Regions from separate parts of the Homo sapiens genome. Here all the other regions are linked to region 1. Evidence: promoter capture Hi-C in human tissues and cell types (Jung and others, 2019). All regions are on one chromosome and are shown on one strand. The core of a region is centred on a gene start or on the middle of the fragment in contact, and the rest is flanking DNA. Distances in the headings are between cores, read along the strand shown.

Evidence for each region. The method cuts DNA at HindIII sites, captures the fragments that hold promoters and counts their contacts. A contact is called where the count stands out against the background at its distance.
Region 2: a contact is called between a fragment that was not itself captured here and the fragment with the promoter of EBPL in region 1, in 1 of the 25 tissues and cell types used here (bladder).
Region 3: a contact is called between a fragment that was not itself captured here and the fragment with the promoter of EBPL in region 1, in 4 of the 25 tissues and cell types used here (IMR-90 fibroblasts, aorta, bladder and 1 more).
Region 4: a fragment that was not itself captured here is called in contact with the fragment with the promoter of EBPL in region 1 in 2 of the 25 tissues and cell types used here (bladder and mesenchymal stem cells).

What each region holds. Positions count from the first base shown.
Region 1 is chr13:49,686,592-49,694,383 of GRCh38, reverse strand. It overlaps EBPL (EBP like), which reads left to right and starts at 2,898. Exons shown (of 4, transcript NM_032565.5): 1 at 2,898-3,130. The coding sequence starts at 2,960. RefSeq lists silencers at 2,773-2,972, 3,003-3,142 and an enhancer at 2,606-3,603. The HindIII fragment of the contact is 15,697 bases long and covers 1-7,792 here.
Region 2 is chr13:49,432,848-49,440,639 of GRCh38, reverse strand. CAB39L (calcium binding protein 39 like) reads left to right here. Exons shown (of 11, transcript NM_001079670.3): 2 at 6,417-6,554; 3 at 7,247-7,322. Among named protein-coding and RNA genes, the nearest start is that of CAB39L, 7.3 kb to the left of the region's middle. The HindIII fragment of the contact is 6,619 bases long and covers 372-6,990 here.
Region 3 is chr13:49,918,976-49,926,767 of GRCh38, reverse strand. It overlaps SPRYD7 (SPRY domain containing 7), which reads left to right. Exons shown (of 5, transcript NM_020456.4): 4 at 5,188-5,290. Among named protein-coding and RNA genes, the nearest start is that of SPRYD7, 13 kb to the left of the region's middle. The HindIII fragment of the contact is 5,717 bases long and covers 1,824-7,540 here.
Region 4 is chr13:49,895,496-49,903,287 of GRCh38, reverse strand. No RefSeq gene overlaps it. Among named protein-coding and RNA genes, the nearest start is that of SPRYD7, 37 kb to the left of the region's middle. The HindIII fragment of the contact is 7,505 bases long and covers 1-7,393 here.

The DNA of each region.
Region 1 (7,792 bases), core at 1,649-4,148:
TCACATTAGTGAGTGAAGCACAGACGAGATGGTGAACAGGTCCATGAAATGCATGGAATCAAGAAATACTTGGCTGCTGAGGAGGAGTTGGTGATGCCTTAGATGCCAAGTTTGGGGAGAGAGAAGTATCGGGGATGATTTCTAGGTTTCCGGGTTGTAGTAACTGATGAGTGGAAGTAACATGAGATAGGAAGGAGAATCAGACATTGGGGTGGAAAGTGATGAGCTCAGTTTGGGTTATATTGAGACATCCAAGTGACTGTCAAGTAGGGCAGTTGGAAATACTGGTCTGGAGTCCAGAGAATAGGACCAGGCTAGAGATTTGAGTTCTCTGCAGGTTTTGCTGGTCATTAAAGCAGAGGGTAAGGATGAGACTGCCTGGATTTGGGGTCTGGAGTGAGAACAGGGCCGAGGACTGGGTTGTGGAGCTGCAGCATTCACTAGGCATTTGTAGTGGAAGATGCACTTGCAAAGGAAACAGAATGGCTAAGGAGGCTGTATTCTCAGAAAACCAAAGGAAAAATATTTCAGTGCTGGGATGCTGCTGAGAAGTAAACTACACTAAGAAAATGAACTGTTCTTGGGGTTCAGTGATGTGGAGGCCAGTAGTCACCTTAGTGAGAGCTATATCAGTGTGATAAGGCAGAAACCAGAGTAGAAAGGACTGAGGAGCAGGGTCAAGACATGAAGACAGGGGATCTGATCAGTTTTTTCATTAAGTTTCTATTTTGCTCTGAAGGGGAGGTGGGCCGAGTGGTCCCTAAAGGATGATAAGTTAGTTACAGGACAGGATCCAGAGCATAGGTGGCTAGATTGACCATACTCAGTCGCCAGTTATTTAACTGAGCAGCTAATATATGCCAAACTCTGTAATAGGTGCCAGGGATACAGCAATAAAAAAGCTAGCCACAACCCCTGGCCTTGAAGACTTACATTATAGTGGCAGGAGATTAGCAATAAGTGTGTAAACAAGGATCATTCTATCTGGTGTTAACTGCTATAAAAAATGGTATAGGAAGTGACTAAGGGAAAAATTTCTTGTGTTCAGTGCCAGCATTTTTTTTAATAACTGTAAAATACACATAAAATTTGCCATCTTAACCATTTTTAAGTGTGCAGCTCAGTAAAGTATGTTCACGTTGTTGTGCAACCAATCTCCAGAACATCATCTTGCAAATCAAACTATCCGAATAAATAACACTCCACTTTTCCCCGCGCCCCCCCCCCACTCCCGCCCCGCCCCACCCCTGGTAACCATCATTCTATTTTGTTTCTGCAAATTGATTATTTTAGATATTTCCTGTAAGTGGAATCATAAGTATGTTTTTGTGACTGGCTTATTTCACCGACCTCATAGGGTTGTTGTGATGTTAAATAATGTAGGTTTGTTCCCGGACCAAACTGGGGGTTGGGCAGCCCAATAATGAGGTGCAGATGAACTGGGGAAGAAGAGTTTTTATTTCTGCAACCGGTTACAGGGAGAAGGTCTGGAAATTATTGCCAGACCAACTCATAATTACAAAGTTTTTCCAGAGCGTATATACCTTCTAAGCTATATGTCTACGTGTAAGAGTGCATTCATCTAAAGACGTAAGTGATTAACAACTTCTAATCCTGAAGACCTTCCTCTGGAGCCTCAGTAAATTTACTTAATCTAAATAGGTCTGGGTGCTGGGATGATTACCCTTATTTTGTCTCTTGCTAAATCATGGAGGCTTGTGGAATTCCTCCAGACTCCCAATAAACTTGTTTTTGGAGGCCTGGGGAGTTTCTTCAGACCCCCAATAAAACTTGTTTAATCCTAAACGGGTCCTGTTAAAAATTCCTTAGTTATCTTGTCATGCTTCAAGGCCCAAGAAAGGCCTAGGCAAAACTCTTGGTGGGCTTTTGTTACATTCCAGACTTTGGTATATGGGCACTGACTCTTTCAGCTTTTAATTTTTTTTTTGTTTTTTGAGACGGAGTCTCGCTCTGTTGCCCAGGCTGGAGTGCAGTGGCGCGATCTCGGCTCACTGCAAGCTCCGCCTCCCGGGTTCACGCCATTCTCCTGCCTCAGCCTCCGGAGTAGCTGGGACTACAGGCGCCCGTCACCACGCCCGGCTAATTTTTTGTATTTTTAGTAGAGACGTGGTTTCGCCGTGTTAGCCAGGATGGTCTCGATTTCCTGACCTCGTGATCCGCCCGCCTTGGCAAAAAGTGCTGGGATTACAGGCGTGAGCCACCGCGCCCGGCCTCAGCTTTTAATATTTAATTTAACCACTCAGTGCTGAAGCAGTTGTGATGGAGGCCTGCGATAGTGAAACCTGGCCTGCCACAGGTTAAACGCATCTATCGCCAAGCCAATAGGACTTACCGCTCCTCTCACCCACCCTTCTACTTTTCTGGATTTTTAAGAAATGGAAAGATTGTCAGAGTAGGCCATAAAGGCTTTAAGCCGGCTGGTGGCTGAAAACTCCCTTGGCCCCCAGCCTCCCTGGTAAGGCTTGCTGCAGCCTAATTAAAACCTTTTGCCCCTAAAATTCTGCCCCGGTCTACTGGCAAAATTTCCACTACCTAGGCTTCACTTTGTGGCTTAAAGTTTGAGCCTTGTTAAAAGCGAAACAACATCAAAAGGTGTGGCCCTATTACCAATCCTTTGGGCTCGGTTTGGGAACAGGTTTGGTCGAGGCGGTTGCGCAAGTTGGTGAGCACGTTCCTTCTACGGAACCTCCATGGGCGGCACCTGGCAAAACCACCGGACTCAGCAGGCTGGCCAGGGTGCGAGGCGGGCACGGAATCCTCGCTCTGGCCCCGACCCGGCCGGGGAGCCCCGTCCCTCCCCGGACCGCCTTGGCCAATCAGCTCCGCTCCTCCTTGGCCATCCGGCTCCGCCCCTTCCCGGCCAGCCCCGCCCCGTCGTTTCTCTCCCTGCTTTCCTCTGCCGCATGGTCCTGGGCCGTTGGCGTCGGAAGCCTGAAGCATGGGCGCTGAGTGGGAGCTGGGGGCCGAGGCTGGCGGTTCGCTGCTGCTGTGCGCCGCGCTGCTGGCGGCGGGCTGCGCCCTGGGCCTGCGCCTGGGCCGCGGGCAGGGGGCGGCGGACCGCGGGGCGCTCATCTGGCTCTGCTACGACGCGCTGGTGCACTTCGCGCTGGTAAGTGCCATCGCCTAGACCCTGCACTCCCCATCCCAGAGAGTGGGAGCGGGGGCGGCAAGGCGGGGTGAGGGGGTCCTGCGGCTTTTTGCAGCGAGCTGGCCGCCCCTCCCCCTGCTGCAGGAAGTCTGTTAGCTGAGAGGCGCCTGGAGGCCGCGGCGGCCGGAGTTCTGATTCCCAGGTCTGTGAACAGAGCGCAGCTTACCTTGTGCTGCCGATTCCTCCACCAAACTTTAAAAAAATTCTGTACGTGCTATGTTAGTTTAGAAGATACCTCAGCTTCCTCGGCTTTGTAACCTGCACGTAACTGTTGAACTGGACATAATTGAGAGTAGAATTGAGGTCATTTTTAAATGCCCCAGAGGGGGCAAGGAGAGATGCTTGCTCCGGAGGCAGCAAGGCTATTGTCGCAAAACCCGAAGCCTTTGCCAAGACAAACGAAACACCCGTGTCTAATGTGTGCCAGGCGCATTACTGAGTTTAAAATTTCAGATCTTTACAGCATCCATAAATTAGTTATTATTGTTCCCCATTTTACAGAGGTGAAGGTAGGCGCTGCAAAATTAGGTGACTTTCCAGTGCCACACAGCTGGCATGATTCTGAGGCAGTCTAGTCTGGCTCCCAAGTTTGCACTCTGTGTATCAGTCGAGGTCTTAGGAAATATGTGTCCTTAGAGATTCAACCCATTTTATAAAATAGCCAGGAAGGTTGTGTTTAAGGCATTTATATTGAAATGCCCCGCCCCCCACCACACACGCGCACGCACACACACACACACACTTTTAAGTTTTTTTTAAACTATGCCCAAGTATCAGTTTGTTTTTTTTTTTTTTTGTAAAGTTGACCTTGTTTAACTCTAGACACACCTGTGGCTAATGTGAAGCCAAAGTCAGTAGTATTGAGAAAGCAAGCCGAGTTTTGGGTAATCATCGAGTTCTGTAAATGTTTACGGGTTGGCTTTGTGCCCATGACTGATGTTGCTGGAATTCTTTTTATTCTGATAATCAACATGTAGAGATAAGGGACAGTGAATGTTTCTCTCAACTCCTTTATTTATAGAATTCTTTTTTTTTTTTTTTGTCTTTTTTTTTGTTGTTGTTCTTGAGACAGAGTCTAACACTGTTGCCCAGGCTGGAGTGTAGTGGCACTATCTCGGCTCACTGCAACCTCCGCCCCTTGGGTTAAAGCTATTCTCCTGCCTCAGCCTCCCGAGTAGCTGGGATTACGGGCGCCCGTCACCACGCCCAGCTAATTTTTGTGTTTTTAGTAGAGATGAGGTTTCACTATGTTGGCCAGACTGGTCTCAAACCCCTAACATCAGATGATCTGCCCACCTTGGCCTCCCAAAGTGCTGGGATGACAGGCGTGAGCCACCGCCACCGCCACCAGCCGAGAATTGATTTTTAAGCTATCACTTGAACACAAGGTTTCCCACAGAACAAGGGAGATAAAGCAGATTGCTAGGCCCGGTTAGAAAAAATGTATAACAAAATGTATAACATAACAAAAATGTTGCTAGGCCCAGTGAGAGAAAACTGTGTAACATATTGGCTGGGTATAACTGTATATAGCATATCAGAATGTATATATATAAAAATGTATAACATATCGGACACAGTGGCTCATGCCTGTAATCCCAGCATTTTGGGAGGCTGAGGCGGGTGGATCACGAGGTCAGGAGTTCAAGACCAGCCTGGCCAACATGGTGAAACCCCGTCTGTACTAAATATACAAAAATTAGCCAGGTGTGGTGACGGTGCCCATAATCTCAGCTACCCGGGTGGCTGAGGCAGGAGAATTGCTTGAACCTGGAAGGTGGAGGTTGTAGTGAGCCATGATCAAGCCACTGCACTCCAGCCTGGGCAACAGAGCAAGACTCTATCTTGGGAAAAAAAAGAAAAATGTTTAACATACCTTAGACAAACAAAAAGCTGTAAAAATACTTAAACTATATGCGTGTGTTCACCACTTGGTTTAAGACTGTTTACTTTTCAAGCTCAGGTTGTTACAGGTAACACGACACACACCTCCTTTTGTGCCATTACCTACCCCAGCTGCAAAGTAGTCCACTGTGTGAATACACCATACCTTAGTTCTCCAAGTCTAAGACCCACATTTTTTCACATATTAGAAGAATCAACTACATCATGTAACTACTGTAGGCCATTTGATTGATATTTTAATGTCTCTAAATTGGGATGTATCTTATATTTGATGAATACGATCACTTAACCAGCCCATATTAGTGGACACATTTTTCTGTCATTACAAACAATGCATCTACCAACGTCTTTGTACATGTGTCTCAGAGATCAGTGGGGAGAGCACTTGAATTAAGCAGTTGAGGCTGCAAGAAAATACATGCCCATGTTGTCTTTGCTTGGGAGTTTATTGCAAGAATACCCAGAAGTGTGGGACAAGCTAAGACTAAGATGTAGAGCTTAGGGGAGAACCAAAATTAAAACTCACTTGTTCACTAGAAGATGAGTTGCCTCTCCTTAACCCGACACTTCTTTTTTTTTTTTTTTTTTTTTGAGACGGAGTCTCGCTCTATTACCCAGACTGGAGTGCAGTGGCGCAATCTCGGCTCGCTGCAAGCTCCGCCTCTCGGGTTCACGCCATTCTCCTGCCTCAGCCTCCTGAGTAGCTGGGACTACAGGCACCCGCCACCACGCCCGGCTAATTTTTTGTATTTTTTGTAGAGACGGGGTTTCACCATATTAGCCAGGATGGTCTCGATCTCCTGACCTCGTGATCTACCTGCCTCGGCCTTCCAAAGTGCTGGGATTACAGGCGTGAGCCACTGCGCCTGGCCACCCCCTGACACTTCTTAAAGAGAGGAGCTCTGTAGGTTTTTTGGCTGCCATCAAATTGAAAGCTATCCTGTTGGACAGTTTCAAGCCAAGCATTCCCAGGGGCAGTTCATTTCCCAGATGTCCAACCAGAGTGCAGTCACCTTGGGCCCCAGCACTGGTCATCAGTTCAGCTCGTTATGACTACAGCAGAGGGCAGGCTGACTTCCCATCAGCCTACCTGGAAGGAGCCATGGCAACATACTAGAAGAAGGAAATGGTGGGGTCACCATTCTGAGGTCGCTGTGGGCAGCCTAGGCACTGGTGCTTCATGGATAAAATTTTATCTCTTCTGCAATCTATGTATAGCATTCAGGCATGGCCAGAAACATGAGGCAAGATATGAATGCCTGTGTATGGAACACATCCTGTAGTCCAGATTGACAGGAGCACAGGGTTTACATAAGAAGTGGGAGGACCAGCTGGAAAGGTGACAGGTAAGAATTGTATTCTGTAGTGAGAAGCCACTGAAGGATTTCAAGCAGGGAAGTCACGTGGCCAAAGCAGATCTTCATAAAGATAATTTAGTGGTGATGTGTTAAGTCAGAAACTCTAGCGTCCGAGATTTTACCCAACTTAGAAGTTAACAAGGTAGTCCAGTTTGATTCCCCAAGGCCCAAACCCCACAGGACAACATAATGAAGGCCAGATGTTACTGCCTGTACATGCAGTGGGATGCGTTACAAGAAAGGAACTCCAGAACTACGCGTCCATCTTATTGTGAGCTGGTGGTGGCCTGTCCATACTTCTCTCTGGAGAGACCTTATCTTAGGAATGTAAACCTCTGAGGAGGAGAAGGTGAGGTCTTGATCTTTACCACCCTAGAACCTCTCTGGAGGGAGCTGTCTCCCAGGTTTACTACTCTGGAAAGGCTCATTATAGAAACATTCTTAAAATTGATATAAATGTCTTTGCTCAGAGACCCAGACAGTGCAGGATGTGAGATATTCATGGAGAATTGTCTCTCAACATGGTGCAGGTTGGATTGGAAAGGATGGAGTTGAGGGGCAAGAAGAGCAACAAAAAGCAACTGCTGTAGTGTGGGGAGTCATTTAAAAAAAAGAGAGAGGCAAGCTGAGGTGGTGTTGGAACTTAAAATGGGGAGGAAAGCTAACTGTGAGAGACTTTCCAGGGGAGAATGTGGTAAGTCAAAGTGGCCACTTGTAGATTGGGGGTGGACATGATCTTGGGGCTTAGGCCCTGAGCAACATGGGTAATGGTGATCATGTTAACTAAGACAGCAAAATCTGGCTTTAGAACTATGAGTCGGGGGTCCTCGTGTGCAGTTAAGAGAGAATAGTGCTGGGCAGTGGCTCACACCTGTAATAAGCACTTTGGGAGGCCGAGGCAGGATTGCTTGAGGCTAGGAGTTGCGAGACCAGCCTTGCTAACATAGTGAGGCCTTGCTAACATAGTGAAGCCTCATCTCTACGAAAAATTAGCTGGGTGTGGTGCTGCATGCCTGTGATCCCAGCTACTCAGAAGGCTGAAGTAGGAGGATCACTTGAACCCAGGAGATTGAGGCTGCAGTGAGATATGATTACGCCACTGCACTCCAGCCTAGGTGACAGAGTGAGACCCCATCTCAAAAAGAAGAGAGAGAGAATGGCCAGAAGGCAATTGAAAAATGTAAATTGAGTTGGAGAGACAGAGTCAGGGCAGAAGAGAGAGTGCTGGGAATTCTTTTCTGAGTTGGGGGAGATAGCACGAAGCCCCAGGTATGACTGCTTTTGCTGAGCTAGAGAGAACAGAAGGGTGAAAGAGCTGAGGAATAAGAGCAGAATCTTTTAAAATATCTATCCTAGGAGA
Region 2 (7,792 bases), core at 2,432-4,931, 250 kb after region 1:
ATGACACAAACAAATGGAAAAACACTCCATGCTCATGGATTGGAAGAATCAATATCATTAGAATCGCCATACTGCCCAAAACAAGCTACACATTCAGTGCTACTGAATGTGTAGCTTGTTTCAAATTATACTTTGAGGCTACAGTAACCAAAAAAGCATGGTACTGGTACAAAAACAGACATATAGGCCAATGGAGCAGAATAGAGAGCCCAGAAATTAAGCTGTACACCCACAGCCATCTGGTCAACAAAATTGACAAAAGGAAGCAATGGAGAAAGAACTTCCTATTCAATAAATGGTGCTGGGATAACTGGCTAGCCATGTGTATAAGACTGGGCTTCTACCTTACACCACATACAAAACTGGACTTCTACCTTACACCACATACAAAAATCAATTCAAGATGGATTAAAGATTTAAATGTAAGAACTCAAACAGTAAGAATCCTAGGAAAAAATCTAGGAAACATTCTGGACATCAGCCTTGGGAAAGAATTTATGACTAAGTCTTCAAAAGCAATTGCAACAAAAACAAAAGTTGACAAGTAGGACCTAATTAAACTAAAGAGCTTCTGCACAGTAAGAGAAACTATTAACAGAGCAAACAGATAACCTGCAGAATAGGAGAAAATATTTGCAAACTATGCATCTGACAAAGGTCTAATATCCAGAATCTATAAGGAAGTTAATTCAACAAGCAAAAAAAAAAAAAAAAAAAACCCATTAAAAAGTGGTCAAAAGACATCAACAGACACTTCTCAAAAGAACAAGTGGCCAATAAACAGATGAAAAAATGTTCCACATCACTAATCATCAGAGAAATGCAAATCAAAACCATAATGAGACATCATCTCACGCCAGTCAGAATGGCTCTTACTAAAAAGTCAAAAAACAACAGATGTGGGCAAGGCTGCAGAGTAAAGGGAACACTTACACACGGTTGGTGGGAGTGTAAATTAGTTCAGCCACTGTGGAAATCAGTTTGAAGGTTTCTCAAAAAACTCAGAACTACCATTTGACCAGCAATCCCATTATTGGGTGTATATCCAAAAGAAATTGTTCTACCAAAAAGATACATGCACTCATATGTTCATCATAGTGCTAGTCACAATAGCAAAGATGTGGAATCAACCTATGTGTCCATCAGGGATAGATTGGTTACATATGAACCGTGGAATACTATGCAGGGAAGGAATGCAATAAGTGTTGAAAAACTAACTGTTGAGTATAATGCCCAGTACCTGGATGACAGGATCTGTCATACTCCAGACTTCAGCGTTACACAGTATACCCATGTAACAAATCTGCACATGTACCCCCAAATCTAAAAGAGAACTTGAAATTATAAAAAAGTAAATAAAATTCACCTCTTTCTATGTTTTCAGGGGAAAAAAAGAAATGAGATGGCTAGACCATAGAAGGAGGTGCAATGAGAGCAGACAAAACTCAATAAAAGATTAAGAAAAAGACAGTTTAAAGTGATGATTGCATTAGAAACCAAGAGTGAATATACATCACAGAAAGTACGATAAGAAAAATGGAAAAATGAAGAAAATAAAAAGATTTTTAAAAAGGAGTCAAGAGGTGACAAGACAGGCAAAGAGAGCCAGAATAAATATAAATGGAGTTCCCCAAATGTAAGCCCAAGGATAGTGGTGATGTTTATGTAACACTGAATATACTTAATGCCACTTATTGAATACTTTAAAACAGTAAATTTTATGTTCCTTATTTTACTACAGTAAAACAAAGCAAGCCAAAGCAATGGACCAGAACAACTATTAGGACTGTAATTCAAGAACGCTTAACATTAAAGTAGGTTTAAATGTAACATATGTTGAAAGGCATACTGTAAACCTGGAGAAATCAACCCACAACAGTTAACACTGAGATGTGGTCCTGTAAAATTGTTGGATTTTTAAAAATAAACCCTTCTTGCATTGATGGGGGAAATAAAAAGAGCAGGTCACTTGCAAAGAAAATCAGATTGGATTTTTGGTGGCAACATTTTATGTCAGATATTAAGAAAGTATTTATTCAAAGAAATAAAATAATTCCTATCTCACCAAACTACCCTTCAAGAATTCAGGGCATTGACAAACATTTATAAACATGAAATAATTCAAGGAAAATGGCTATAATTGTTCCCATGAATCCTTCTGAAGCGTATACTAGAGAACAAATTTCAGACAACCAAGAAATGATTGGAAAATCTTCAACATAAGGTCAGGTGGTGAGCAAATCAAATATATTTTGTGTGTAGCATCAAGATTAAAAGATGAGGATAATGATGATAGAATAGTATATAAATATTACATGGTCTGACATTGTAGAAATAATATAACCCGCAAAAAAATGGGAGGAAAAGAGGAGGGTGAATGAGAAGTAGAATAAGGTTGTTTGCCTTTTAGGCATTAGCTGGGAGAAAAAAGCCCTTGAAGCTGACAGGTGGAAGCTTAAACATACTCAGAAGTGCAAGATAGAACACTAATAAAAATAATACCAGCTGGACACGGTGGCTAATGCCTGTAATCCCAGCACTTTGCGGGGCTGAGGCAGGAAGATTGCTTGAGCCCAGAAGTTTGAGACCAGCCATCCTGGGCAACATGGCGAAAGCTTGTCTCTTAAAAAAAATAAAAAATAAAAAAATTAACTGGGCGTAGTGGCACACACCTGTAGTCCCAGGTACTTAGGAAGCTGAGAGAGGTCGGAGGATCTCTTGAACGCAGGAGGTCAAGGCTACAGTGAGCTGTGATTGCGCCACTGCACTCCAGCCTGGGCAACAGAGTGAGACCCTGTGTCAAAATAATATTAAATAATAACCAGCAATTTGCAGGGAAGCTTAAATTTCGCTTCTGAAGGTTTGATAACTGAGTTGGCTGAACTAAACTAACAGTAGGTTAACAAGAGAAAACCCATACAAATTTATTGATATGTAAGCATACATTAATAGCTAGCAAAATGTCTATGGGCATGCAGGGAAATCAACACTGCAGTCTAGCAGAATCCATGGAGAAGTGGCAAGCAAGGTGGAGACTGTAAAAAAAGAGGAGAGGTTGCAGGACCTAGGGGTAGCAGAATACAGATAATTCCCAGAAAGAGAAAGCCCCACCCTGGATAGAGAAGTGAGAAGAGGTGTAAGATCCATTAGACAAAATAAGAGACTTGAAAGAAAATGAGACCAAAGACGCAGTCTCATGAAAGTACTGCTTCTGGGGAAAGGAAAGAGGGTGCCTTGGAAGGGTCACCATCTACCTGGAGGCTTGGTGATAGAGAGAAGGGGTAGTAGAAATTAAGGATCTTGGTGAACCAGAATAGAAAATAGATACTCATTTCTCCCACCCAAAAAGGAGTCATTAATTAAAAACAAACAAACAAAAAAACACTTTATTAGGTACTATTTACTAAGAAATCCAGTTAAGTCATCTAAATTCCTTGCTTCTGCCTATACACAACTATATCTGGTTTAGGAAAAATAAAATATTTCAAGATGAACAGAAGATGGCAGGCAACATCCATATAAAGTTACTTTAGCTGGAAAACAAAATGATAGTCAAAACATTTCAACTGGGCTGGGCACAGTGGCTCACAGCTGTAATCCCAGCCCTTTGAGAGGCCAAGGTGGGCGGATCACTTGAGCCCAGGAGTTCGAGCCCAGCCTGGGCACTATAGTGAGACCTAGTCTCTACAAAAAATAAGGAAAAAAGTTTTTAAAAAATTTTAGCTGATGAAAAGTCTTCCCGAAACATCCAACTATAGCACTAAAGAAAACTACAGCACAGTACTCCTACCAGAATTTAAAATATCCTTAAACTAACATTTGTAGAGATAAAAAGTCTCAAATCCAAATTCAAAACTGCAAAACAAATGGACAAAAAGAGGAAGATATGAAAAGTGAATTTACTGAACTCAGGAAATAAAATAAATCAAAAGAAAAATCAGCTTTTAAAATGAAGTTAAAGCCAGATGCAGTGGTGCATGCCTGTAGTTCCAGCTATTTGAGAGGCTTGAGCCCAGGAGTTTGAGGCCAGCCTGGGCAATATAGAGAGACTCCTGTCTCAAAAAAAAAAAAAAAAAAAAAAAAAAAGTCATAAAGAAAGAAATGAAGCTAAATTCCAAGGTACATAAGAAAAGATTGGACTGAATATAAGGAGCATTGAGAAAAGGTATGAAAACAACCAAGATAATGAAAATTAAATGAAGAAAGGTTAAAAAGTAATAGAAAGTGATTGATATAGAAAATAAGTAAAAGTAGAGTTCCTAAGAAGAAAAAAACAATAGCAAAGCTAATAGTTAAGTTTCAATCCATGAAAACATTCTGGAAATAAGAGATGACTCCAATCTACATGTTGAAAAGGCTCATTGTGTACTGGGAAAATTGATCCAGAATGGTCAGTTCCAAGTCATGTCCTAGTAAAACAGTTGGACTTTCAAAATGATGAAGAAAAATTCCTCTGGGCTTCCAGACAGAAAGGAGAGGTTAGCAACAGACTTCTAAACAGCAACATACAAAGCAAAACAGCCATGGAACAACATGTTTAAAGTCTACGAAAGTATAAGCCAAAGATTTTATAACTATGACTCATTCTTAAAGAAAAACCATGATAAATCCTACTATATTAATAAAAAAGTATTTAAATAGTGAAAAATGCCACGAGCAAAGTCAAAAGGCAAGCGACAAAGCGGGGAAAAATATTTGGACTTATATCACAAAGAGCTAACCTCCTGGATGAAAACACCTTCGTAAAATTCCAGGCAAGTAAGACCATCAACCCAGTAGGAAAATGGGCCAAAGATATGAAAAAGAAATGCACATGACAGACATATAAAAGATGTTCCAGACTGGGCGTGGTGGCTCACACCTATAACCCTAGCACTTTGGGAGGCCAAGGTGGGCAGATCGCTTGAGGTCAGGAGTTTGAGACCATCCTGGCCAACATGGTGAAACCCCACCTCTACTAAATATACAAAAATTAGCTGGGTGTAATGGTGAGCACCTATAATCCCAGCTACTGGGGAGGCTGAGGGAGGAGAATTGCTTGAACCTGGGAGGCGGAGGCTGCAGTGAGCCCAGATCATGCCGCTGCACTCCAGCCTGGGCAACACAGCAAGACTTCATCTCAAAAATAAAAGATGTTCCACCTTCAGTCATACAAAGAAAAATATAAATTAAAGCTATGTTAAAGCATTTTTCAACAAAATCCAAAAGTTATACAATAGGCCCTGTAGACTGTGGGGAAATAGGCACTTTGATACATTGCTGGTAAGGATACATAAGCATAAACTGCATGGGAGGGAATAGTCAAAGGGAGGTTAGTCATAGCAGCATATTACTTGCATTTGCAAAAGATTGGAAATAACTAAAATGCCCATTAATAGAGAACTGATTGCATAAACTAAGGTGCATCCAGACAGTACAACAGTCTGCAGGTAGATTGTGCCCCTTCCAAGTCACCGTCTTTCCATAGAGGTCATAAAAAAGAAGGGAGAAAGTCTCTATATACCAATAGAGAATGATCTGTAGAATACAATAGGAAGTGGAAAAAACAAAGGCATGGAAAAGTATGCAATGTATCCGCAGAAGGAAGGAGCAGGGTAAAGGTGCCAACAACAGAAGAGAGATTTCTCTAAATGGAAGTTGTTTCTATAGTTTTAACCCTAAATCATCATGTATGTCTACATATTCAAAAGTGGGATTAAATAAAAAAGTAGAATGAAAGAAAAATCTGAAAAGGAAATGAAACAAGTTTACACATCTATATCGCATTTTGGTGACATAACCACACACAAAAAGGAACAAATTCTAGTGGCTCTAGAACATAGATTTTGAAATGTACTTTCTTGGTGGGATATATTCAGTAGTAGTAGTAGTATTGATGTGCTGCTATTTTGAAGGCATTAAGTGTTGCAAAATGTTTTTATTTTTTATTTTTTTTAATTTTATTTTTGTAGAGACAAGGTGTCACCATATTGCTCAGGCTGGTCCCAAACTCCCAGGCCTAATCCTCCTGCCTCGGCCTCCCAAAGTGCTGGTATTACAGTGATGAGCCAGTACACCTGGCCTAAAATGTTGATAGTTGTTGGACAAAACCATAAAATTTATCAAGGCTATAACGTAAGAAAATTTAGTCTGGAAATTCGTTTGACTGAGTAAAGTGAAAATGAAGCATAAAATTACACAGGAAAGCTAACATAATAGAGTTTGTGTTATATGGTAGACACTTTGCTGACACTATATATATATGCTATATCATTTGTTTCTTGCAGCTGTACATTGAGACCCATCTTATTTTCCCACTAGGTTCAGAGAGATTAAAAATTTGCTTCAGATTAGCCAGTTACTAAGTAGAAGATTGAGATTTAAAACCAGATTGATGTGACTCCAAAGCCTGTGCTGTTTTTCCTACATTATTGCAGGATATCCATCAAATATTGAGAAGAAAGAATATCAGGAGCAAAGTGTTCTAAGTTGCTGTTCAGAACGTAAAGATGCGAACCCCAAATCAGTGGTTTGTTCATTCTTCATGCAAGAGCAATGCACTAAAGGAGAGAAGCGTAAGTTTTCTCTTATTTCTGATGGGGAAACAAGCACACGCATACACACTCTTGTGATGGAGATAGATTTTACAGAAATTGTCGCTGGTGACTGAAATTAGTAAAGGTGCGAACTAAAAGTGGTGGAGTAGAAAAGAAAAAATCTAGCAGGCATGGGTTTTCATGATGTTGTTAAAAGCAAGAAACCCTTCAAAGCTTCCCTTTATGACCCTTCAGTGCTCTTCTATGTTTTGTGCTAGGAAACAATAGAAATATGAAAGAGCTAAAATTTTACTGAACATCTAAGGGGAAGAAAGCATCCTTCAGTCAGGAAAGCCTTCCCACAGCCTTTTTGTAAACACTGACCTTTAAGATACTAGTTTAAATAAATTGTGTTTCTTCCTTTTGAAGATGGGGGCTGTTGGAGATTTCAGAGGTACTAGAGCGCCCTTTACCCAAACTAACGCTTTATGTTTCCACTGGTTTCCCTTGATGATAAATATATTTTTCATTCAGTTCAATACTACTGTTTGAAAGGTCTGCCACTTGAGTTATTGGGATATGAAAATTTACCTGTTTTAATTTGATGTATTAGTATTTGATTATGATGGAAATTTAATTTGTAATTCTGTATACCTGAAAGCAATAAGAAAATATGTTGGATTTACTATAAAGACTTTAAAAATTAATTTTAAAGCTTTTCTTTTTGTCAGAAGCTGTGGTGATCAGTGACTTTGGTGAAAGCTAAGAAGGTTCAAACAAATTTGCAAATGATATACAACTTCTAAGGTAAGCTAGTATGATGACTCAATCAAGATTTTAAGTGCTCTCGACAGACGTGTAGACTATGCTCAACATACCAAAATAAAATGTATCAGGAATAAATATAATATTGTATTTAAATGTTATAAAGCAGTTGCAGAAATAGTAGACTGATTTGTAGCAATATGATAGACTAGAGAGCCTGAATTCCTCCCTCCACCAAACATGTAAAGTACTAGATTCAGTATAAAAAATATCCTTTAACATGAATGGATGAGCCCATTAAGAAAATAAGGGAAACTTTCTGGGGCTAGAAACAAAACAAGTATAATATATCCTGTGAGATAAGCAGGTGCTGAAGTCATTGAATACTTTGGGGGCATCCATGGATTTCTGTTGGCATTGAAGCTTTGTGTAAGGAGCAGGATGAGGACTAGAGAAAAAGATCCCTGGGTCCCATATAAAGGTAAGAAGCCTGGTCAGAGACCATCTTGCAA
Region 3 (7,792 bases), core at 3,433-5,932, 230 kb before region 1:
AATGAGAGAAGGATTCTAATAAGATGAAAAGATAAGAGAAATCCAGGTTAATTAATTATGAAAAGGTACAGTATTTTAGAAAGAATGAAGAAAGGTGTGGAAATTAAGATTTTTAATTACGGCCTGATCTTTCTTCTCTTTTTTGCAATTTAAAAAATATGAACAACTGTAAGTTTTTAATTGTTGGAAGTTTTTTTTCCAGAATTGACTAAAGAAAAAAAGGAGATGAAAGGCATAAGCCATTAAAAAAATCTGCTTTTTCCCATGCTTTTTGAATAGTTGGTTCTGTATTTGTAGATCATTGCCAGATGCCCATAATATGGAACATCCTTATTCAAATGGTAATTTCTTGAAAGAGAATCTTGAAGTCAAGTTGATGCTGTCAACCTGTTTACCCTAAAAGATGAAATTCAAACATAAGAAAGGATAATCAGTAACAAATGTTTTTCTTTGTTGATGAACTGAAACTTCTACCTGCCTTCCTATCTCATTTCATTCATTGTAATGTCTGATAGCACAGTGTGACAGACTGAAGAATGCCACTTTTAGTCTGTCAGTGTTGTTAAATTAGACTTCGAGTTTTCATATGAGCTCATTCTCATAAAAGGAGAACTAAAACTATGAAATACATGCAGAGCCAAGAAAAGAAAAACATTACCCTGCTATTTTAACTAGTTCAAACACTGGAGAACAAATTTTACCAAATTGTTAACAGTGGCATGCAATAAGTAGAATGGATTATAAGACAGGAAAAGCATTCTCATGTGTTTAGAATTTAAGTCATGTACCATTCTCTGAGGAGAAATCAAGAAAAATAAGCTGTGAACATCTAACCAAATGATTATATGATTATATTCATATGATAATCACCCAGTACAGCACGGCCTGCTACAGAACTAGAAAGACATACATGAAACAGTTTATGCTCACTTTCTCCTTTTTTTTTTTTTTGTTTTCAGATGGCCACTCGCTCTGTCACCCAGGCTGGAGTGCAGTGGCGCTATCTTGGCTCACTGCAAGCTACACCTCCTGGGTTCACGCCATACTCCTGCCTCAGCCTCCTGAGTAGCTGGGACTACAGGCGCCCGCCACCACGACTGGCTAATTTTTTTCATTTTTTACTAGAGACGGGTTTTCACTGTGTTAGCCAGGATGGTCTCCAACTCCTGACCTCATGATCTGCCCACCTCGGCCTCCCAAAGTGCTGGGATTACAGGCGTGAGCCACCGTGCCCGGCCTACTTTCTCCTTATACATATAATTCTGAAAAGTACAAATTTCATTCTAACATGCATGTATCAGTTTACTTTTAGAGAAGTCTTATAAACATTCTATGTAATAATAACAATAACAAACACTTCTAAGCATTTATTTATTGAGATGGAGTCTCACTCTGTTGCCCAGGCTGGATTGCAGTGGTGCCATCTCGGCTCACTGCAACCTCCACCTCCTGGATTCAAGCGATTCTCCCGTCTCAGCCTCTCTAGTAGCTGGGACTACAAGTGCGTGCCACCACGCCTGGCTAATTTTTGTATTTTTTAGTAGAGACGGGGTTTCACCATATTGGACAGGCTGGTCTCGAACTCCTGACCTCGTGATCCACCCACCTTGGCCTCCCAAAGTGATGGGATTACAGGCATGAGCCACCGTGCCCAGACCTAAGCATTTATTATGGGCACTGCTCTAAGTGCCTGGCAAGGATTAAATTGTTTAATGCTCATAATGGCCCTTTGAAATAGGTATTATTATTATTATTATTATTATTATTATTATTTATTTATTTTTTTTTTTTGAGATGGAGTTTTGCTCTTGTTGCCCAGGCTGAAGTGCAATGATGCAGTCTCGGCTTACTGCAACCTTCACCTCCCGGGTTCAAGCGGTTCTCCTGCCTCAGCCTCCTGAGTAGCTACAATTACAGGTGCCTGCCACCATTCCCAGCTAATTTTTTTGTGTTTTTAGTAGAGACAGGGTTTCACCATTTTGGCCAGGCTGGTCTGGAACTCCTGACCTCAAGTGATCTACCCACCTCGGCCTCCCAAAGTGCTGAGATTACAGGTGTGAGCCACCACGCCCGTACGGTAGTAGTATTATTATCCCCATTTTACAGATTAAGAGAAATTAAGTAACTTCTTATGTGAGTTAATTACAAGACTATATAGCTCAGCCAGATACTATGGCTCATGCCTGTAATCCTAGCACTTTGAGAGGCCAAGGCAGAAGGATCCCTTGAGCTCAGGAATTTGAGACCAGCCTGGGAAACATAGTGAGACCCCATCTCTACAAACAAACAAACAAATAAATAAATAAATAAAATTTAAAAAGAAAATTAGCCGGGCATAGTGGCATGCCCCTGTAGTTCTAGCTACTTGGAAGGCTGAGGTGGGAGAACTGCTTCAGCCTGGGAGATAAAGGCGGCAGTGAGCCGTGATCCTGCCGCTGCACTCCACCCAACCTGGGCCACACAGAGCAAGACCTTGTCTCTGGCCGGGTGCGGTGGCTCACGCCTGTAATCCCAGCACTTTGGGAGGCCGAGGTGGGCAGATCACCTGAGGTCAGGAGTTCGAGACCAGCCTGACCAACATGGAGAAACCCCGTCTCTACTAAAAAAAATACAAAAAATTAGCCAGGCGTAGTGGTGCATGCCTGTAATCCCAGCTACTCGGGAGGCTGAGGCAGGAGAATCACTTGAACCTGGGAGGCGGAGGTTGCAGTGAGCCGAGATTGCGCCATTGCACTCCAGCCTAGGCGACAAGAACGAAACTCTGCCTCAAAAAAAAAAAAAAAGACCTTGTCTCAAAAACAAAAACAAAAACCAAGATCATACCTGAAGCAGTCTAATTTCAGAATCTGTTCACTAACCTGCACACAATTATTAATAAAGACATAGAACACACAGTATATTTTGCTATCATTTTGGCAGAATCAAACCCAGTTTCTTCATCATAGAATAGATTAGGTTAGAAAACACTTGAACTGGCCCATCACAGTGGCACATGCCTGTAATCCCTGCACTTCGGGAGGCTGAGGCGGGCGTATCACACTGAGCCAAGGTCGCGCCACTGCGCTCCAGCCTGGGCGACAGAGTGAGACCCAGTCTCAAAAAAAAAAAGAAAGAAAATACTTGAACTAAACTATACTGAGGGTGGGACTTCTCACATCTTTCCTCACTTCTTTGGTACTGGGATTTTGCTACTGCAGGCTTGGGTTTAAAACTTGCTTGTTTGAGGCTGGGCGCGGTGGCCAACGCCTGTAATCTCCGCATTTTGGGAGACCGAGGCGGGCAGATCATTTGAGGTCAGGAGTTCAAGACCAGCCTGGCCAACATGGTGAAACCCCATCTCTACTAAAAATGCAAAAATTAGCCAGGCATGGTGGCGGGCGCCTGTAATCCCAGCTACTGGGGAGGCTAAGGCAGGAGAATCTCCTGAACCTGGGAAGTGGAGGTTGCAGTGAGCCAAGATCATGCCATTGCACTACAGCCTGGGTGACAGAACGAGACTCTGTCTCAAAAAAAAAACAAAAAACAAACTTGTTTGTTTGCAATCGGCCACTGGGGGATGAAAGTGCCTGGATTACAACCTCACTGATCTGAACTGCTAGATTTCTGGTAGTCCCATAATGAGAGTAACATACTTTCTTTTTTATGTAATTAAGTTTTTGTTTTTTAAAATGAAAACAGACTTTTTCATTAGAAAAGTGAATCCCAGCCATCAGCTAGCTTTATTACTATTATCTAAAGACATAAACTAAAGCGAAGCAAAGGCAATCTATGTACTATTTATCTTTCTCAGTATTCCTTAATTATTAATAATTGTTTAAGTTAACCCTGGCTTTGCTAAGAATTGAGAATCTTTCATACCACTTACCACATTAGCTTCTCTGGGCTTTTGCTGTCTTGCTTGTAAAGAGAGAGAATTTAAGACTAAGATGATCTATAAAATTTTTTTTTTTTACCTCTAAAAAGCTTTTAACTTGATAGAATGTATCCACAGTCAGAAATCCTGAAATCCTTGAAGTGGTTTGCTTCTTGGTCTATGATGACTTCTCTATTGAAAGATCTCTGCTGTCTTTCAAGGGAAAGATCTCTTTTTGTTATCAGTTAGTAGCTATTGTATAAAGTTTTAAAGAGAGATATGGTGATTAAGAGCAAGTGTTTAAAGAGAGGCATGGTGATTTAGAGAGAGGTATTGTGATTAAGAGCAAGGATTCTGAAACCATACTGTATGGATTTAAATCACAGCTTTTCCACTTCCTAGCTGTGCAACCTTAGGTAAATTACTTAATCTTTCTGTGCTTTAGCTTCATCTGTAAAATGGGGATAGTAATACTGTCTTGTTGTGAGGATTAAATGAGTAAATATGAACTGCCTAGAATAGTAGCACTATTGGTTTATAACATGGGCTAAGTCTTTTCTAGCCTTTTATTTATTTATATAAATAATTTATATTTATACAAATAAATATTTTATTTATATAATTATAAAATAATTATTTTAACAATAATTATTAATATCACTAATTGTGATTTTTTTCCATCAATAGTGTACCGAGTAATTTTATTACATTGTTTTTTAAATCATTTGAGCTACTATTTTTGTTTTTTAACTTGAAACTAATTACCAATTTTATTCAGTTGTGAACACCAGCTTTTCCTTGATAATACACTTGACACATTTGAAACCAGAGTAAAGAGATGTAGAAATGTGTTATTTCTTCCTGGAAATAAAATGTATAGAGACGTTTCTTCATAATTTGAAAACAGTGACAGGTAGTAAGTCCTGACAGTGAAAAAAACCTCATTGTTTTTCCTTCTTTAGATCAAATTCTGTAGAGAAAGAGCAGCGTTTTCTGTATGAGTGTAAAAGGTTTCTCTATTCATGGTATGTAGTACTTATATTATCTTAGCATTCAAAATATAAAATCCAGATTATACAAATATAATTCTAGGATTTAAACTGTTGGCTTTGTTTTACCTCTAATGTGGACTCTTGGGATGTTACCTGACTTTATCCCCCCTCATAATCACTACTCATTTTTTTAGCTCAGTTCAAGTAGGATTCTACCAAATTGTCAACCCTTAATGAAAATTGTTGTCAGCCTATGCTTAGCTTTTTGTGTTTCCATACTTCCCAGTCAATGCTTTCTGACGGCTCAGCTTTTATGGAACGTTTCTGTTTTTTCCTTCCTAGGGTATTACTTATGACCATGTCGAATTAAATGTATACTTGAATGGAAAAAACATGCATTGTCCAGCATCAGGTATACGAGGGACAGTGTATCCAGTTGTTTATGGTAAGCAAAAATATTTCTAATGTATTATTACATACATATTAACTTGTTTGGTGTGTGTATCAGTCTGTTTTCATGCTGCTATAAAGACATACCCAAGACTTGGTAATTTATAAAGGAAAGAGGTTTAATTGACTCACAGTTCCACAGAGCTGGGGAGGCCTCAGGAAACTTACAATCATGGCGGAAGGGGAAGCAAACACATCCTTCTTCACATGGCAATAGGAAGGAGAAGATTGAGCGAAGTTGGGGAAAGCCCCTTATGAAACCATCAGATCTTGTGAAAACTCACTCACTTTTACAAGAACAGCATGAGTGTAACCACCCCCATGATTCAATTACCTCCCACTGGGTCCCTCCACAACACATGGGGATAATGGGAACTATAATTCAAGACGAGATTTGGGTGGGGACACAGCCAAACCATATCAGCGTGTATGTTACTTTTATAGCTATCATCTAGAAATCTGGACACATTGTTAATAAGGACCTTTTTATTTTATTTATTTATTTATTGTTTGAAACGGAGTGTCACTCTGTCACCCAGGCTGGAGTGCAGTGACACGATCTCAGCTCACTGCAGCCTCCGCCTCCTGGGTTCAAGCGATTCTCCTGCCTCAGCCTCCCGAGTAACTGGGATTACAGGTGCCTGCCACCACGCCTGGCTACTTTTTGTATTTTTAGTAGAGATGGGGTTTCACCATGTTGGCCAGGCTGGTCTTAAACTCCTGACCTCAGATGATCCACCCACCTCAACCTCCCAAAGTGCTGGGATTACAGGTATAAGTCACCGTGCCCAGCCATAAGGACCTTTTTATATGGATTGTAGTCGGTAGGATATTACAATCCCACTTTGCAGGATTAAGGATAGTTTCTGTTCCCCATGTATTAAAATAAACTTGCTAAATACAATGATTACACTTAAATATGCAATAACCGTACTCCCTTTTTCAACATGTAGTTTTATGTTTTAGAAAGTTTCAAAAAGCTTTACTGAATTTAGAAAACTTTTTCTGCAAGTCATTGGGAATGATTGCATGGCCAGGAAACATAATTATAAATAATATTTTGGAATTAGAGATGGGAATTTTATGTAGACTGTACATTAATAACCCTTACAAAATTCCTTAAATGTTAATGCTCTTCTGAGGGAAATAGTGACTTAGAATTTTAATTTTAACTTTAATTTTTTGTTTTTTTGTTTTGTTTTGTTTTGTTTTGTTTTGTTTTGCGACAGAGTCTTGCTGTGTCCCCCAGGCTGGAGTGCAGTGGCCCGATCACAGCTCACTGCAGCCTCAAACTCCTGGGTTCAAGCAATCCTCCCACCTCAGCCACCCCAGTAGCTGGGACTACAAGTGTGCACCACTATTGGGATTACAGGCATGAACCACTGCATCCGGCCTACCTTAATTTTTATTATAGAAAATTCCAAACATGTACAGAAGTAAAAAGAATAGTATAATAAACCCTCATATACCCATCAGCCAGCTTCAAACAATTATCAACTTGTAACCAATCGGGTTTCATCTACACCCCCCCACCCCCAATGCTGCTATTGTTCTTCACTTACCCTCCTTGGGTTATTTTGAGGCAAATGCCAGGTAATATATAATTTTATTCATAAATGTTTTATTTGTATCTCGAAAAAAAGGTCTCTTTCTTTTTTTTTTTTTAGAAAAACATAACCACAATGTCTTTATCAATCCATTCTGCTTTATTTTTTATACTATCAACTTTTTTTTTTTTTTTTTTTTGAGACAGAGTCTCACTCTGTCACCCAGACTGGAGTGCAGTGTTGTGATCTTGGCTCACTGCTGCCTCCGCCTCCTGGGTTCAAGATATTCTCGTGCCTCAGCCTCCAGAGTAGCTGGGATTACAGGTGTGTATCACCACACCCAGCTAACTTTTGGGGTTTTTTTGTATTGTTTTGTTTTTTTTGAGACAGAGTCTCATTCCATCGCCAGACTGGAGTGCAGTGGCACGATCTTGGCTCACTGAAACCTCCGCCTCCCAGGTTCAAGCGATTCTCCTGCCTCAGCCTCCCGAGTAGATGGGACTACAAGCACGCACCACCACACCCAGCTAATTTTTGTATTTTTAGTAGAGATGGGGTTTCACCATGTTGGCCAGGATGGTCTTGATCTCTTGACCTTCTGTTCTGCCCGCCTCGGCCTTCCAAAGTGCTGGGATTATAGGTGTGAGCACCTGGCCAACTTTTATATTTTTACTAGAGATGGGGTTTCACCATGTTGGCCAGGCTGATCTCGAACTCCTGAGCTCAAGTGATCTGCCCACCTCGGCCTCCCAAAGTGCTGAGATTATAGGCATGAGCCACCGTGTCCAGCCTATTTTGTATTATCAACTTTAAGTAAACAGGTATATGATTTTTCTGCCTTTGGTTTTGTAAGTCTAAAAATATTTTCTCATTTAAGTTCTTAAATTTGGGTTATAATAAGAACTAATTAGGACTGGCGTGGTGGCTCACACCTATAATCCCAACACTTT
Region 4 (7,792 bases), core at 2,392-4,891, 210 kb before region 1:
TCTCTTCTAAAAAATACAAAAAAATTAGCCTGGCGTGGTGGTGGGCGCCTGTAGTCCCAGCTACTCAGGAGGCTGAGGCAGGAGAATGGCGTGAACCCAGGAGGCAGATCTTGCAGTGAGCTGAGATGGCGCCACTGCACTCCAGCCTGGGCGACAGAGCGAGACTGTGTCTCAAAAAAAAAAAATTTACAAAAAAGTACTTGGGCATGATGTTGGATGCCTATAGTCCTAGCTACTCAGAAGGCTGAGGCAGGAGGGTCGCTTGACCCTAGGAGTTAGAGGCTGCATGCAGTGAGCTGTGGTCATGACACCACTGCACTCCAGCCTGGATGACAGTGAGACGAGGACTCTTAAAAAAGAAAAAAAAAGAGACCTATTTGAGATTTTGAGATGATCTGTCGTTTAACCTTTTCTCTGATCTAGATTTATACAACACAGTGTTTCCTCAAAGTGTGTTTTATAGAACACTAGCTCAGGAGGTCAACAGTTACCTGTATTTACTGTGGGACTTCCAAAAGCCAGTCTGCTAACCAAGAGAGAGTGTATACGTGCAACATCACCACAACACATAATCCAAGAACTCTTTTTCTTAGAACAAGGGGCTGTGCAACACTTTGTCAAATACTTATCTAATGAATGTAGGAAGGAAAATAACTGAATGTTAGTTATAGGCATAATACTGTAACTTGCTTCTGCATTTCAAAGAGACCACAAAAGAAAATAAAATTGAGCATTAACTACATGCCAGACGTTGTTTTAAGAACCTCACACACATTGGCTCATTTAATATTCAAATGACTTTATAAGATGGGAACAATCACCCCCATTTTATAGATGGAGAAACTGTCCCAGTTCAGATGGCAGAAGTGGCAGAATAAAAATTCAAACCCAGGTGGCCTCCAACAGAGACTCTTATTAACTGTTCCACTATGCGGCATTTCTAGGCCTACCCTTCTCCTATCTTTTATTCTGTATAGATGGAGGTCTCACTATGTTGCCCAGGCTGGAGTGCAGTAGGCTATTCATAGGCACCATCATAGCACACTACAGCCATGAACTCTTGGGCTCAAGCAATTCTCCCCACTCAGCTCTCTTCCCAAGTAGCTGGAACTACAGGCACACACCACCGCACCCAATCTTCTGTTATCTTTTTTGAGACAGGTTCTCACTTTGTCACCCAGGCTGGAGTGCAGTGGCACAATCTCAGCTCACTGCAGCCTCAACCTCCCAGGCTCAGGTGATTCTCCCACTTCAGCCTCCTGAGTAGCTGGGACCACAGGCAGTTGCCACCACGCCCAGACACATTTTTGTATTTTTTCACAGGGAGGAGGGGTCTTACTCTGTTGCCCAGGTTGGTCTCGAACTCCTGGGCTCAAGCGATCGTCCCTCCTCAGCCTCCCAAAGTGCTAGGATACAGAGGTGAGCCACCACATCTGACCCAGGATTTTTTGAAATCTTGGGTCTTCTTTTATTTCTCAGGCAGTTTTATAGTTTCCTTCAAGTGTATTTTAAATCACTCCCACTTTCTTTAGAGAACCTTTGGGTTAGGGGAACTCCCTCCAAAGCCATCTCAGCCCTTTCTACAATGATATCCCCCCATCCCCAGCATTTGGCCCATCTCCTCATTCCATGATCTAGCCCTAAATTGCACTTTCCCCTCTGTACTTCTTGATTGACTTTTGAAGTCTTAGTCTCCTATTTGATGCTTCTATGTTATTTATGCTGCTGCTACCATCCCCCGAAGTCCTCCAGCAAGGCCAGACCCCTGGACACCTTCTTTTACATCTACCAATACATCCTTCAGAGCCATTCCCCTTGTACCCCTCCATCCACCACCATCTCACAGCCTGGTCCTCCCCCTTGCCCAGACTTAGCTATTACTGGAATGCGACCCCCACTCGCATCCTGGCCCTGCACATCCCCTTTCAGGTTTTTGCTCCTTTTTCCTCCTCTCACCAACTAAGACAAGGGCTGTCCCATAAATAACTCTGTGTCCCTGCCTGACCCACATGGTAGAATCTCAACAAAGGTTTCATCTCTTCCCCTGAAGCCCCATGGACAGAGATGCTGCAATTGGCTTTATGAAATGATACTTTGTGTTCATGCTTTTCCACCCTTAAAAAGATCATGACCTCCATCTCATTTTCATCTCAACATGCGCAAACCACAAGGAGTGCTTTTAGCAATATCTTTTAGGTATTACGAATAATATCACAGGATGTACACACAGGGTATACACACACACTGTGATAAAAGGAGTAATATCTCCCATAGATATTAGCAATAATATCACAGGGTGTACACCCACTGTGATATTAGCAGTAATATCCCCCTTGGATATTATGAATAATATCACTGGGTGTACCCACACTGTGATATTAGGAGTAATATCAATCTTGGATATTAAGAATAAGATCACAGGGTATAAATGCACTGTGATATTAGGAGTAACATCTCCCTTGGATATTTTGAAAATATCACAGGGTGTACAACCACTGTGATATTAGTCCTAATATCTCCCTTGGATATTATGAATAATATCACAGGGTGTACACCCACTGTGACATTACGAATAATATCTAACTTGAATATTCCTAAAAATATTAAAGGGTGTACACCTACTATGACATTAGGAGTAATATCTCCCTTGGATATTGCGAATAATATCACAGGGTGTACACCCACTGTGACATTAGAAGTTGTATCTCCCTTAGATATTACGAATAATATCACAGACTGTCCACCCACTGTGACATTAAAAGAAATATCACACTTAGGCCGGGCACAGTGGCTCACACCTTAATCCCAGCACTTTGGGGGGCCAAGGCAGGCGGATCACGAAGTTGGGAGATTGAGACCATCCTAGCTAACACGGTGAAACCCTGTCTCTACTAAAAATACAAAAAAATTAGCCAGGCGTGGTGGCAGGCACCTGTAGTCCCAGCTACTCGGGAGGCTGAGGCAGGAGAATGGCATGAACCTGGGAGGCGGAGATTGCAGTGAGCTGAGATCACACCACTGCACACCAGCCTGGGTGACAGAGTGAGACTCAGTCTCAAAAAAAAAAAAAAAAAAGAAACATCATAGGGTGTACATCGTAGGGTGTACACCCACTGTGATGCTAGAGTAATATTTCCCTTGTATATTATAAAAAATATCACAGGGTGTACAGCCACTGTGAAATTAGGAGTAATAGCTCCCTTAGCTACTATGAATAATATCACAGAGTATACACCCACTGTGATATTAGGAGTAATGTCTACTTCTAGGTATTATAAATAATATCTTTTAGATATTACAAATAGTATCACAGGGTGTACACCTACCGTGGTATTAAAAGCAATGTCTTCTTCTAGGTATTACAAATAATATCTTCTTTTAGATATTACAAATAGTATCGCAGTGTGTACACTCACCGTGGTATTAGGAGCAATATCTTCTTTTAGATATTATGAATCATATCACAGAGTGTACACCCACAGTGATAATAGGAGTAATATCTTCTTTTAGATATTATGAATAATATCACAGGGTGTACACCCACTGTGATATTAGGAGTAGTATCATCTCCCTTAGATATTATGAATAATATCACTGGTATACACCCACTGTGATATTAGGAGTAAAATCTTTTAGATATTACGAATAATATATCACAGGGTGTATGCACAGGAGGGGCTCACCACCACACCTAACAAGTAAAAAAAACAATTTTGTAGTTGGTACATGTTAGCTCACGCCTGCAATCCCAGCCCTTTGGGAGGCCAAGTGGTGTGGATCAATTGAGGTCAGGAGTTCGAGACCAGCCGGGCCAACATGGTGAAACCCTGTCTCTACTAAAAATACAAAATGTGGGCTGGGCGCATTGGCCCACGCCTGTAATTCCAGCGCTTTGGGAGGCCGAGGGGAGTGGATCTCGAGGTCAGGAGTTCAAGACCAGCCTGATCAACATGGTGAAACCCCGTCTCTACTAAAAAGTTAGCTGGGTGTGGTGGCGCATGCCTGTAATCCCAGCTACTCAAGAGGCCGAGGCAGAAGCATCGCTTGAACCCAGGAGGCGGAGGTTGCAGTGAGCCAAGCTCATGCCACTGCACTCTAGCTTGGGTGACAGAGCCAGACTCTGTCTCAAAAAAAAAAAAAACATACAAAAATACAAAAAGCCAGGCATTGTGGCGGGCACCTGTAATCCCAGCTACTTGTGAGTGTGAGGCTGGAGAATCACTTGAATCCGGGGGTGGAGTTTGCGGTGAGCCGAGATCACGCCGTTGCACTCCAGCCTGGGCAACAAGAGTGAAAGTCCATCTCAAAAAAAAAAAAAAAAGATTATAGAGTGTGTGTCTCCCTATGTTGCTGCTCAGTCTATTCTCCAACTCCTGGGCTCAAGCGATCCTCCTGCCTCAGCCTTCCAAAGTGTTGGGATATAGGTGTGAGCCGCTTCAGCTGGCTAATATGTTATAAGAACATTATAATCTTACTTAAAGGTATGAAGTTTTAAACTTCATATAATCTTTTTTTTTTTTTTTTGAGATGGAGTTTTGCTCTTGTTACCCAGGCTGGAGTGCAATGTGCAATCTTGGCTCACTGCAACCTCCTCCTCCAGGGTTCAAGTGATTCTCCTGCCTCAGCCTCCAGAGTAGCTGGGAATACAGGTATGGGTCACCACGCCCGGCTAATTTTGTATTTTTAGAGACGAGGTTTCTCCATGTTCGTCAGGCTGGTCTCCAACTCCCAACCTCAGGTGATCCACCTGCCTCGGCCTCCAACATGCTGGGATTACAGGTGTGAGCCACCACACCTAGCCCACATACTCTTAAGTATGGTTTTATTTGGTTGTTTCTGAATAGTTCTCGAGATTTTCATTAAATTTATATCCAATAGGATTTCTGTTTTTCTACAATAGAATACCTCTCTCATTTGGTGTTGGAATCCAGCAAACTAAATAAACCATAGTAACACCAGTGTTTCTGGATTCTTCCACGTCCATCTGTCTGTAAAAACACAATCCTCTGTTGACATTTATTGAGTCCCCACTCTCAGCTGTGCACAGCAAAGAGTTTATTAACAAAAAGAGAAGGCGGCTGGGTGCAGAAGCCTGTAATCCCCCGACTCTGGGAGGCCAAGGCGGGAGGATTGCTTCAGCCCAGAGGTTTGAGTCCAGCCTGGGCAACAGGGAAAAACCTTGTCTCTACAAAAAATTAGTCGAGCATTGTGGTGTGCACCTGTAGTACCAGCTACTCCGGAGGCTGAAGTGAGAGGATAACTTGAGCCCCAGAGGCAGAGATGAGGTAAGATTGCATCACTGCACTCTAGCCTGGGCAACATAGCCAGGCTCTGTCATAAGTAAGTAAATAAATAAATAAATAAATAAATAAATAAATAAATAACTGCATGTGGCTCTTGTTCTTCAAATGCTCGCATTTGTGATGTGTTAGGGTGGGACAGACTGCTTCAGAAATCTTAATAATTTTCTCAGCCTCTGCTCTGGGTAAAGACCAAGCCCCTGAGAATGCATTGAAGGGAAGCTTGTCATCCAGATACTTCATAAGGAAACAGAAAACCTCAAGAAAGCTTCCCTCAATCAGTACCACTGTTCATTTTCCTCCCTGATTCATAGGCTGGATGGATGGGAACCAGATCATCACTGGACCATCCGTGTGAACAGCACAGGAACTGAGACTGGAAATGAAGGTTGTTGGTCTCCAGGGAAGAGGGACAGAGGCTTCAGCATCTTTACAGTCTCTGCTGTTTCCTAAAAAAAAAAAAAACCCTTTTCAGGACAAACAGCTATTTCATGCTCTGTTCCACTGTCTGTCCATTATTAAGGCAGTAGGTCTTTGGCTTCATCTCATTCAGGGAAATAAATGTTTATACTGATGGCTCAGAATGCAGTGGTCTAGAATGAAGAAGAATGTGGCACTGTTACTAAAGGTAAAACTGCAGATGTACCACTAGAAGATAGCTCTAAAACGTTGTGGTCTTTTAAGCCAGGCATAGTGGCATGCACCTGTGGTCCCAGCTACTTGAGAGGCTGAGGCTGGAGGATGGCTTGAACCCAGGAGTTTGAGGCTTAGTGAGCTATGATCATGCCTGTGAATAGCCACCGCACTCCAGCACAGGCAACATAGCAAGACCCTGTTTCTAAATAAATAATTAAAATTTTAATAATTGTGGTCTTCTTAGTTGGTTCTAGTGGCTGAGCCACCCATTTCTCCCCCAGGTTACTCTAGTGGCCTCCTCACTAGAGGTCTGGCACCAAATCTGGCCCCTCTGAGTGAATAAGTGAATGTTTGATGTGTCTCTTAAGACTTCAACTCAGTCTGTTGACTATAATAGGTATTAAGTGCAACCTAGTTAAGAAAAGCAAATATGCACCAGGCGCAGTGGCTCATGTCTGTAATCCCAGCATTTTTGGAGGCCCAGGGGGGTGGATCACCTGAAGTCAGGAGTTTGAGACCAGCCTAGCCAACATGGTGGAACCCCTTCTCTACTAAAACTACAAAAATTAGCCAGGTGTGGTGGTGAGCACCTACCCAGCTACTCGGGAGGCTGAGGCAGGAGAATTGCCTCCGGGAGGCGGAGGTGGCAGTGAGCCGAGATTGCACCATTGCACATCAGCCTGGGCGACAAGAGAGAAACTCAAAAAAAAAAAAAAAAGAAAAGAAAAGAAAAGCAAATATGATTCTGATCATTGCCAGACAGAAACATTTTATTTTATTTTACATGTTTTTCTTTTATTAATCAGCTTTCTCAGGTTGAAGGAAACATTTTCATGAATTTGTTTCCATCGATCTGACCACCAGCTTTTTTTTTTTTTTTTTTTTTTGAGATGGAATTTCACCTTGTCACCCAGGCTGGAGTGCAGTGATGAGATCTAGGATCACTGCAACCTCCACCTTCTGGGTTCAGGCAATTCTCCTGCCTCAGCCTCCCGAGGAGCTGGTATTACATACACCCAACACCACGCCTAGCTAATTTTTGTATTTTTAGTAGACGTGGGGTTTCACCATGCTGACCAGGCTGTTCTCGAACTCCTGACCTCAGGTGATCCACCCACCTTGACCTTCCACAGTGCTGAGATTACAGACATGGGCCACCACTCCTGGCCGACCACTAGCTTTTGCTGAGCCTCTACTTCATTCTGTTCTGTTTGCGTCAGGCACCAGACAGCCCTTGGTATGTAGGTAACTTGGTAAGACATGATGTTCTTTGCCTCTGAGGAGCTTACAGAGTGATCAGGACAAGAGATCTGTGAAGAGATCATTACAGTGTGACTCTACAAAGAAAGTGTAATGGGAACATAGCAGAGGGAACAATTACCTGTTCTTTCTTGGGATGGGGGAGGAATAGAACCAGTTTTTCAGAGATAAACAGGATAGTCTCAACCTAAAGAGACGCACATTCCAGGCAGAGGAAGCAATGTGCACAAGCACAGGCCTGGCCAGGGAACAGTGAGCGGTAGGCAGGGGCAGGGGTGAAAGGAGGCTGGGACCCACAGTGGAGGGTCTCATATGTAGGCTAAGGAAGTAATCCTTTATCCTCTAGGAACCAAAGGAGAGTTTTACATAGGCAGATTTAGTAACTCCAGCGGAAGGGTAGGCAATGGTTTGGAGTAGGGAGAGAGCAGAGACAAGAAAACAAATAGGAGGCTGTGGCCAAGGTCCAGGAGATGTTGAGAATCTGAGACAATGTCTTAAATCTTGTGAAGTGCGCCAGGCATGATGACTCAAGCCTCTAATCCCAGCAGTTTGGGAGGCTGAGGTGGGAGGATGTCTTGAGCCCAGGAGTTTGAGAC